Regions from separate parts of the Homo sapiens genome. Here region 1 is linked to region 2. Evidence: promoter capture Hi-C in human tissues and cell types (Jung and others, 2019). All regions are on one chromosome and are shown on one strand. The core of a region is centred on a gene start or on the middle of the fragment in contact, and the rest is flanking DNA. Distances in the headings are between cores, read along the strand shown. Region 1 overlaps ZNF20 (zinc finger protein 20). Region 2 holds the start of ZNF69 (zinc finger protein 69).

The links. Contacts are between HindIII fragments. The study calls those that stand out against the background at their distance.
Region 1: a fragment that was not itself captured here is called in contact with the fragment with the promoter of ZNF69 in region 2 in 11 of the 25 tissues and cell types used here (H1 embryonic stem cells, IMR-90 fibroblasts, bladder and 8 more).

Annotation. Positions count from the first base shown.
Region 1 is chr19:12,126,645-12,131,994 of GRCh38, forward strand. It overlaps ZNF20 (zinc finger protein 20), which reads right to left. Exons shown (of 4, transcript NM_021143.4): 4 at 4,706-5,350. ZNF625-ZNF20 (ZNF625-ZNF20 readthrough (NMD candidate)) reads right to left here. Exons shown (of 8, transcript NR_037802.1): 8 at 4,706-5,350. Among named protein-coding and RNA genes, the nearest start is that of ZNF20, 11 kb to the right of the region's middle. The HindIII fragment of the contact is 9,523 bases long and covers 1-5,350 here.
Region 2 is chr19:11,886,262-11,892,024 of GRCh38, forward strand. ZNF69 (zinc finger protein 69) reads left to right here and starts at 1,521. Exons shown (of 4, transcript NM_001364730.1): 1 at 1,521-1,725. The coding sequence starts at 1,663. RefSeq lists an enhancer at 1,718-1,767. The HindIII fragment of the contact is 10,336 bases long and covers 319-5,763 here.

The sequences.
Region 1 (5,350 bases), core at 470-2,969, 240 kb after region 2:
CCTAGTTCCTAACAGGCCATGGACAGGTACCCGTCTGTACCCGAGAGTTGGGGACACGTGAATTAGAGGACACTCAGGTGGTGTTCAGTGGAGAATGGATGGCTTGTTTGCTGTGTGAGAAAATCTTCCACATATTTGGTCATAGAGATATTGCATTGTGTGAATGCACAGGAAAAACATTTTGAGTTTTTCCACTCTTAGATCCCTGTGCAATTTTGAGAAATCCAGTCACAACAGTGTGTGGATGTTAATGCCGCCCTTACCACAAGAGGGAGCTTCATTGACGTTGCCTTTCTGGAAAATGGTTCAAAGGACTTTGTTGGAAATTCTACTCTACTCTACTCTACTGTATTTATGTTATGTTATGTTGTTATGTTATGTTATGTTATGTTATGTTATGTTATGTTATGTTATGTTATGTTATTTTAGAGACAAGGTCTTGCTCTGTTGCCCAGGCTGGAGTGCAGTGTTGCAGTCTCAGCTCACTGCAACCTCTGCCTCCCAGGTTCAAGTGATTCTCCTGCTTCAGCCTCCCGAGTAGCTGGGATTACAGGTGGCCACCACCCCAGCCGGCTAATTTTTGTACTTTTAGTAGAGACAGGGTTTCACTATGTTGGCCAGGCTGGTCTAGAACTCCTGACCTCAAGTGATCCGCCCGCCTTGGCCTCCCAAAGTGCTGGGATTATAGGCATAAGCCGCCGTGCCTGGCCCCTGAAATACTTTTTAATATAGGGTGTAAGCCAGGCGCGGTGGCTCACATCTGTAATACAAATACAAATACAAAAATTAACCAGGTGTGGTAGTGCGTGCCTGTAATCCCAGCTACTCGGGAGGCTGAGGCAGGAGAATTGCTTGAACCCAGCAGGTGAAGGTTGCAGTGAGCTGAGATCGCACCACTGCACTCAAGCCTGGCGACAGAGCGAGACTCTGTCTCAAAAAAAAAAAAAGTGTGTAACAGTTGGTGAAAAGGTTCAAAAAAAAAAAGAAAAGAAAAGAAAGGTGACACTTAAATTTACATGACTTTTTTTTTTTTTTTTTTGAGACAGCGTCTTGCTCTGTCACCCAGGCTGGAGTGCAGTGGCACAATCTTGGCTCAATGCAAGCTCTGCCTCCCAGGTTCATGCCATTCTCCTGCCTCAGCCTCCTGAGTAGCTGGGACTACGGGCGCCCGCCACCACGCCCGGCTAATTTTTTGTATTTTTAGTAGAGACAGGGTTTCACCATGTTAGCCAGGATGGTCTCGATCTCCTGACCTCGTGATCTGTCTACCTTGGCCTCCCAAAGTGCTGGGATAACAGGCGTGAGCCACCGCACCCAGCCTACATGACTTAACTTTTTACCTTGTTAAACAGAGAGCAATCAACCCTGTGAACGTTATGTTCCAGATTCTGACAAGTGTGTTGAAAAAATTCTACACACTAAATGAAATAGGAGTAATGGGTGAGAGAGTGTGACCTTGAGTTTCAAGTTGGGGTAAGGGGGGCGGAAAAGAAGACAGTGTCTTGAGGTGGTGACATCTGTAGTGAGATCTGAAATGACGTGTTAGTATATGAAGTCAGGAAAGAGGATTCTGGGAAGATGGCAGAATAGGAAGTATCAAGCAGAAACTACAGGAAGCCATTTTTGTGAACTGAGTTCCTCTGCTGGGCCCTCAGAAACCAGACCTACCCCAGCGATTAGGAAATTACACCTAGGCAATCGTCATTGCCCCACACGCTACAAAGAACGTTCAGTAGACAATGGCTTGAGAAATGCGCCCAGTCCAATCTTTGGGTAAGCCAGGTGCAGAGATGTACAAAAAGACTGTCCTTGGCAAAGTTCTATGGTCACATGATGTTTGAGGCAGTTCTGCATATCATATGAGGGCCTTATTGGAGTTCTTGTGTATCTCTGCCAAGAGAGTACTGCACAGCAGAGGTCATTATTGCAACTTCCGTGCCATTTATTTATTTTGAGACAGAGTCTTGCTCTTTTGCCAGGCTGAAGTGCAGTGGCACGATCTCAGCTCACTGCAGTCTCTGCCTCCCGGGTTCAAGGGATTCCTCTGCCTCAGCCTCCTGAGTAGCTGGGACTATAGGAGCCCGCCACCACGCCCGGCTAATTTTTTGTATTTTAGTAGAGACAGGTTTCACCATGTTGGCCAGAATGGTCTCAATCTCCTGACTTCATGATCCGCCCGCCTCGGCCTCCCAAAGTGCCGGGATTACAGGCATGAGCCACTGCACCCAGCCACTTCTGTGCCATTTAATTGTTCACCAGTTGCCACAGGTCTATCTGTGTACACCTGAGTTGCTTGAGTGGTTCTAAACAAATGAATTTAACTTTCATTGTGGTGTTGAATTTTTGTATATACCTTTTATGAATTATTTTGACCGTGGGCTGACCAATATCATGAGTAAAAGATTTAAAAGGTCTAGAGGAGCCAGGCATGTTGGCTCATGCCTATAATCCCAGCACTTTGGGAGGCCGAGGCAGATGGATCGCTTGAGGCCAGGAGTTTAGAGACCAGTCTGGCCAACATGGTGAAACTCCAATTCTACAAAAAACACAAAAATTAACTGGGCATGGTGGTGTTCGCCTGTAGTGCCAGCTACTTGGGAGGTTGTGACGAGACTTGCTTGAACCTGGGAAGCAGAGGTTGCAGTGAGCTGAGATCGTGCCACTGCAATTCAGCCTAGGCAACAGAGCGACACTCTGTCTCAAAAAAAAAAAAAAAAAAGCCATAGGTAGGAAGCAAAATGTAAATAATGAGAAAAATATATATCTTAAGTTCACATTTGAAATATGTAAGAAAATTTGGTGATGCTGCAAATAAACTGAGGATTGTAATTATATAAATTACAAGTTTTTCCTGAGAAAAAACACATTTTCAACCTAAGTACATTGATCTTAAAGGATTTTTCCTTTGCTTTTTGACCTTGCTTTGTGAAAAAGTGCAAAAATAAGACATGAATAGTCAAAATAAGAATTTTTGGGCCAGGCGTGGTGGCTCACACTTATAATCCCAGCACTTTGGGAGGCCGAGGTGGGCGGATCACGAGGCCAGGAGATCGAGACCATCCTGGCTAACATGGTGAAACCCTGTCTCTACTAAAAAAAAAAATACAAAAAAATAGCCAGGCGTGGTGGCGGGCACCTGTAGTCCCAGCTACTCGGGAAGCTGAGGCAGGAGAATGGCGTGAACCAGGGAGGCGGAGGCTTGCAGTGAGCCGAGATCGCGCCACTGCCCTCCAGCCTGGGCAACAGAGCAAGACTCCATCTCAAAAAAAAAAAAAGGAATTTTTGGCCAGGCATGGTGGCTCACACCTGTAATCCTGGCACTTTGGGAGGCCGAGGCAGGTGGATCACATGAGGTCAGGAGTTTGAGACCAGCCTGGCCAACATGGTGAAACCCTGTCTACTAAAAATACAAAAAAATAGCCAGGCATGGTGGCAGGTGCCTGTAATTCCAGCTACTTGGGAGGCTGAGGCAGGAGAATCACTTGACCCCAGGAGGCAGAGGTTGCGGTGAGCCAAGATTGCACCACTGTCCTCCAGACTCTGTCTCCAAAAAAAAAAAATTCATATCTCACAAATCAAGGTATTTTCCATATGTCATCACACATAGTTAAGGTTTGGTCAGTCAGTGATTGCTTCTATGTCTGCTGGGACTGGGATTTTTACTCTAGGGAGACTGAAATAAGCTTTTGTGAAGAGAAGCACCCATGACACCTTAAAGGAAATGATCGGATTGTTCCATGCATGACTTTTCCACGATGTCATTAGCTTCATAATATTAGCATAAGAGGGTTCCTGACAAGTTTGCATCAACAGCATGTTACCAGAGAAAGAAAGACTTGATTGGAATAGTGATGCTGACTTTGTTCTTTACTGGGCAGGAAATTCAGTTTTCAAAAACATATTGGCCCCATAGGACTCAAGGTGATTTTTTTAAAAAAGTAGTAGCCAATTGTGGTGGCTCATGTCTGTAATCCCAGAACTTGGGGAGATGGAGACAGAAGAATCACATGATCCAGCAGTCAATGACCAGCCTGGGAAACAGGGAGACTCCATCTCTACAAAAAATAAATAAATAAAATCATAGTATATACCTTGATAAGAAGTGAATTTATAGATTTTAACTGAGGTATGTTATGGTTAACAATGTCCATAAATTGTAGGGAATATATCAGGGTTTAGAGAATAGTATGGTAAAAACTGGTCCAGAAGTCTGATGGCTGGCCTCCCCTCGCCAGAAGGCCGAGTCTTTTGCCCCTGAACAGGCACATGTCATACACCTGCAATGTGAGATGATGCTCTTCAGTGACCATGATGGATCAATACAAAAATAACTAATTCTTGGCAGGGCACAGTGGCTCATGCCTGTAATCCCAGCACTTTGGGAGGCCGAGGCGGGTGGATCACGAAGTCAGGAGATCGAGACCATGGTGAAACCCTGTCTCTACTAAAAATACAAAAAATTAGCCAGGCGCGGTGGCGGGCACCTGTAGTCCCAGTTACTTGGGAGGTTGAGGCAGGAGAATGGCGTGAACCAGGAAGCGGAGCTTGCAATGAGCCGAGATCGAGTCACTGCACTCCAGCCTGGGCGACAGAGCAAGACTCCGTCTCAAAAAAAAAAAAATTAAAATAAAAAAAAACCTCATTCTTTAACCATGTCTTGAAATGTGACAGAAGAAAACACTTTAAATTGCAAACATACCCCAAATTTTTCTCTTCTCACGAAATGTGACTATCTTTTAATATCTCACACATCTCACAGTCATCTATGGCTTTTGGTCATATTCATTACCACAGTATATTATTACACCCTCTTTGACGACACTTATGCCACTGGTGGTCTTTGGTCAGAAGTCACTCATAAGAACATGAGATCACCTTTGGTATTTAGAATAGATGAAAATTCATGATCCAGATAAAAACTAAGAATATAAGCATGAAAAGTAAAATCTACATGAGGAAAAATATGCCTGACATCCACATGGCAACACTGACTCACAGTGACCACCGGATAACATGGTAACATTATCAACTTGATCTAATACATGATGTTAATGGGAGGTTGTAATGTAGCTTCTTCATTAAAAAATAATAATTGTTAGTATGCAGTTGTTATAAACAGTTAATAAGCTTATTTCTAAAATACATGAACAGAAGTATTTGTTGCCAAGAAACCGCATTAGTGTTTTTAGTCAGGTATACTCATACAAAGTTAAAAACGAAGTGAGACATTACATTCAGTTGTGAATAACAGCAAATGCTTGAAATTTCCTGATAAGAGCAAGGTGGCTCTTCTCACATAAAAGCCCTTGGTGAGACCAATCACTGCACAATGCAGCAGAGGAACAAGCTC
Region 2 (5,763 bases), core at 271-2,770:
CGTGATCTACCCGCCTCAGCCTCCCAAAGTGCTGCGATTACAGGCGTGAGCCACCGCGCCTGGCCTCTCTGAGTTTCTCTTCAAAGACTTAGCCTGCTAACTTCCTTGTCTTTTGTTCTCCAGCTCAACTTTCCTGTTCCTCCTTGCCCCTAGTTACTGTAAAACAGCCTACCCCCTTCCCGTCAGCTCTAATCAATAACTCACATCTGTTCCCTTGGTTACCTGTACCCATTGTTCCCCCGAAACTGCACGTCTCACACGCTCCATCTCTGTACCTCACGTTCCCCTCTCCTTCTATATTTAGAAAAATACGTACAAGTAGCCAGTCGGGTCAGCTCAGATTGTGTGGTCGAACCCCAGCCCATGAAGGAGTGACACAGAGATAGGGACCGCATTAAGGATAAAAAAACCCCCGGTGACCTTTGTTCTCTGTGCTCTTGTGATCTTGATTGACACAAGTGGCACACTTCTGCAGAAGTAAATTGCCTTGCTAAACAAATGAAACTTTCCCCTAAGTGCTAGTTTTACTTCGTGGGACCAAGAATTTATTCCTAAAGCATTTTATATCCGACAGAGATATTCATATATATAAAGAAAATGTGGGCCAGGCGCGGTGGCTCACGCCTGTAATCCCAGCACTTTGGGTGGCCGAGGCGGGTGGATCACTTGAGGTCAGGAGTTCAAGACCAGTCTGGTCAACATGGTGAAACCTTGTCTCTACTAAAAATACAAAAAATTAGCCAGGCGCGGTGGCATGTGCCTGTAATCCTAGCTGCTGGGGAGGCTGAGGCAGGAGAATCACTTGAACCCAGGAGGCGGAGGTTGCAGTGAGTGGAGATTGCACCACTGCACTCCAGCCTGGGGGGACAGAGCGAGGCTCTGTCTCAAAAAAAAAAGAAAAGAAAATGTGTGAAGATCAGGCTAGAGACAGAAATGTTTGGGAGCGTCACCTGGATAAAGGGTTCATGAAGTTGGCAGTTTATTTAGGTCAAAAGCTTAACTTAACCCCTGGAGAGAGTTTCCTGCTGGTGAAAATGAAGATCTGGAAGGAGGAAGCATTTTCACACTGTGAGGAGGGGATGGGGGTGTGAGAGCAAGTCTTAGCCATGCCTCATCCCCAGTTGCGGCCCGCTCCAAGACATATGCCTCTCCTCCTGGCGCAGTCGTGTCTGGCCTGGTCTCGGTTCCCCTGCTGCTCTGAGGCAGGAGATGGCTCCTGTGGACACTGAATCTGAAATTCCCTGCACACTCCTGTGACCCCATGCAGAACGAAGGAGCAGGGACAGTCCCTTGAGTGAGGAAGACGCTAGTGTTCTCCTCTATCAATAGCAAGTTTGGCTGAAATGCAAATATCCAATAACCAGAGTGCAGGAAGGAGCTCGCCCTTGGAAAAGCTGTGGTCAGAATCCGTCTGTCTGGCTCTGCAGGGCCCGATACCCAGGGCTTCCGCTGTCACTCAGACATGGGGGGCGGGGCCTAGCATTCCATCCAATCAGAGGCATTGTGGCGGGTCCCTGCCCACTGTTCCTCCAGACACTGAGGGGGTCGCATTCCTTACCTCACCTTTGTCCCTGCGCGGGCTGCGGCTGGGATCCGGTCTTTCCAGCCCCGAGAGGGACCTGGTTCCTCTGCCCAGGCTTCTGTCACTCTGTCACCTACGCTATGCCCTGCTGTAGTCACAGGAGGTGTAGAGAGGACCCCGGGACATCTGAAAGCCAGGAAATGGTGCGTGTCTGGGGCCGGGTGTCGTGAGACGGGGGAGGGGCTGCCTGGACCGACCGGAACCGACTGTGGCGAGACCCTGGCTTTCCTGCGGGCGACTTTGGGATCTGGGACCGAGTCCTCCTGGAGCCGCTCGGCCCTCGGTCCCCTCGACTGCTCGGTGTGGCTGGGCCGGTAGCCGGGACACCAGGCGTCCTGTCTCGTCTCTGCGCGGCGACTGCGGTTCCAGAGCCCTCTATGGGCAGCTCCGCGCCCGCAGCCACGCGTCTACCCAGATTGTGCGGGGGCCACGGGAGGGTCATGTGGGTGATCCCGACTCGGGTGTGGGGTTCGTGCTTGGGAGGAGCAGCGGTCTGTGGGGCCCCCAGTGTCCACTTTTTCTCCTGTTAAAAATTAAACTGAGGAACGTTAACAAAGAGTTCATTTGAGCAAACAGCGATTCACGAATGAGACACACCCAGTCCTGGCTTGTGGTTTGTCAACGGAAAAAGCCAAACTATGTAAAATAAAGAAGTTTATTCGGAGCCGAATAGGAGAGACCTTGGCCGAGGGAAAAACAACCCCAAGAAGCCTGGAGTAAGTGGTCCCGAGGCGGCTCAAGACAGTTTGGTTTTATTCATTTTAGAGAGACAGGAATTGCAGGGAAAATCATGAATTAGTGCCTGGAAGGTGTAATTTCCTTAGGCAGAAAGGGAGGGACCTGGCCGGGCACGGTGGCTCACGCTTGTAATTCCAGCACTTTGGGAGGCCAAGGCGGGCGGATCACCTGAGGTCAGGAGTTCAAGACCAGCCTGGCCAACATGGTGAAACCCCGTCTCTACTAAAAATATAAAAAAGAAACTAGCCGGGCGTGATGGTGGACGCCTGTAATCCCAGCTACTCGGGAGGCTGAGACAAGAGAATTACTTGAATCCAGGAGACAGGTTGCAGTGAGCCCACACAGTGCCACTGCACTCCAGCCTCAGCACAGAGTGCGACTCTGTCTCAAAACAAAAACAAAAACAAAAAACAGAAAGGGCGGGACCTGTGGAAGGGGGGTTAGAAGGCACAGGTGGTTGAGGGATTCTGTAGGTGGCAGCTGGTTGAGAGTGTGAAGCTTTGTCTAAAGTTTGGAGGAGGTAGGAAGGAATGCTGAAGGAAGGGGGTCTGTTATCTGCCACTTGATTCCATCCCAGCCAAAAAACAGACCTGTTTCTCTAGATTTTATGAATTCTAAGGTGTGACTTACCCTTGTCTTGCGTGGCCTTAGGTCTTGTTTGTAATTTGGTATCTTCTTGCCACAAGGAGTCTGTTTTTCCAGTCAGATAATGTCTGTTTTTACATGAATGTGCGTCAGTTGCTGCATGTAAACTCCTAAAGGGAGAGGGTATAAGGAGGCCTGTCTCACCTCCCATCCTGTCATACAGAGGCACTCAATTTTCAGGGTTTTTTGGGGGTTCCCTTGGCCAAGAGCCGGTCACTTCACTTACCTGGGAAGGTACTTTGTTTTTGTTTTTATTTAAAACAGAGTCTCCTTCTGTCACTCAGGCTGGAGTGCAATGGCTCAATCTCGGCTCACTGCAACCTCCACCTTCCGGATTCAAGCAATTCTCTAGCCTCAGCCTCCTGAGTAGCTGGGATTACAGGCACGCACCTGAAGGGGGCCTGCCCCTCCACCCCTGTGGGTGTTTCTTGTCAGGTAGAGACAAGAGACTGAGTAAAGAAATAAGACACAGAGACGAAGTATAGGGAAAGAACAGTGGGCCCAGGGGACCGGCGCTCAACATGCGAGGACCTGCACCGGCGCTGGTCTCTGAGTTCCCTCAGTATTTATTGATCACTATTTTTACTATCTTGGCGAGGGGAGTGTGGCAGGACAACAGGGTGATGGTGGGGAGAAGGTCAGCAGGGAATCATGTGAGCAAAGGAACCTGTATCATGAATAAGTTCAAGGAAAGATACTGTGCCTGGATGTGCAGGTAGGCCAGATTTATGTTTCACTTTATGCAAATATCTCAGTGTAGCAAAGAGTAACAGAGCAGTATTGCTGCCAGCATATCTTGCCTCCCACAGGGCGGTTTTCTCCTATTTCAGAATAGAATGAATGGTCGGCTTTACACAGAGACATTCCATTCCCCGGAACGAGCAGGAGACAGAAGCCTTCCTCTTATCTCAACTGCAAAGAGGCCTCCCTCTTTCACTATTCCTCCTCAGCACAGACCCTTTAGGGGTGTCAGGCTGGGGGATGGTAAGGTCTTTCCTTTCCCACGAGGCCGGATCTCAGGCTGTCTCAGTGGGGGAAAACCTTGGACAATACCCAGGCTTTGTTGGGCAGAGGTCCCTGCGGCTTTCCGCAGTGCACTGTGCCCCTGGTTAACCGAGAATGGAGAATGGTGATGACTTTTACCAAGCATACTGCCTACAAACATATTGTTAACAAGGCACATCCTGCACAGCCCTAAATCCATTAAACCTTGATTCAATACAGCACAGGTTTCTGTGAGCACAGGGTTGGGGCTAAAGTTACAGATTAACAGCATCTCAAAGAAGAACAATTTTTGTTAGTACATACCAAAATGGAGTTTCTTATGTCTTCCTTTTCTATGTAGACACAGTAACAATCTGATCTCTCTTTTCCCCACATGCACCACCACGCCTGCCTAATTTTTGTGTTTTTAGTAGAGATGGGGTTTCACCATGTTGGCCAGGCTGTTCTCGAACTCCTGACCTCAAGTTACCTACCTGCCTCGGCCTCCCAAAGTGCTGAGATTCCAGATGTGAGCCACCTCGCCAGGCCAGAAGATAGATTTTTATTTTTAGTTTATAGGTTGAAGCCTCAGCTTTTATAAGGTACATGAGGAGACAAACCAGATAAATGCTTGATTGGTTGCAGAGATGCAGTCGCCTTATTTGGACTTGCCAGCCCGAAATAATTCAAAGGTTCAGATTTCAGTTTGAAGAGTTTATTCAAGCAGAAAGATAGCAATGGCCCATTCAGGAAAAAAAACAGACTCCAGAGAAATGGACTCAGTACTCTAAAATTAGAAGTTAAGTTCTTTCTTATATTACCAGGAAAAGAGGTCCTGATCAGACCCCAAGAGAGTTCTTGGATCTCACACAGGAAAGAATTCAAGACGAGTCACAAAGTGCAGTGAGAAGGGAGTTTGTTGAAAGCTACTCTGGGCCAGCATGATGGCTTAGATCTGTTTTCTAAGCACATTGGGAGGCCGAGGCAGGAGGATCACTTCTAGTCAGCAGTTCGAGACCAGCCTGGGCAACATAGGGAAACCCCATCTTTTCCAAAAATAACAAAAATTAGCCGGGTGTGGTGGCTTGCACCTGTAGTTCCACGTACTCGGGAGGCAAGCGTTCAAGACCCAGCTGGCCAATGCAGTGAGAGCCTGTCTGTATTAAAAAAAAAAAAAAAGAAAAGAAAGAAAGGAAGGGAGGGAGGGAAGGAAGGAAGAAGGAAGGAAGGAAGAAAAAGGAAGGAAGGAAGGAAGAGAGTGATTCTCTGTTACAGAGTAGGGCATCCTCATAAAGCAAGTGGAGGAATGTACTAAGTTTTTCTTAGGTAGGGATCTTGTCTATGTAAAGACTAAACTAAGCTGTGCCTACCTGCATGGGGGCTGACAGCATCACAAAATTTATTACTCTATTGATTTAAAGAAAACTATCCTTTACATTTTAGCACCCAAGTGCATTAAAACAACTATAATTATCTTGAAAGCACATATTGTTATGGGTATTGGGACATCAGGACATTCTGTTGTTGTGGGAGTGTAAGGATACTTGCAGGCATCTTCAGGCTGTTTTCTTCATGGGAAACTTTATGATCATGGGTTGTGACTGGCAAGGAGTGTTTCTTGTTAGTCTCAAGATGGAGCTGAACTTAAATTGGTGTTTCTCTGGCTCCCCTAGGCACCTGCTTCCCTAACACTTGTATAGGGAAAAGGCAAATAAATATAATAGGATTGCATTTTCCATAGAAGGCTGATGTATGAGGTACAATAATTTAATTTTATTTTTTTCTTTGAGCGAATGTCTTGTTCTGTGGCCCAG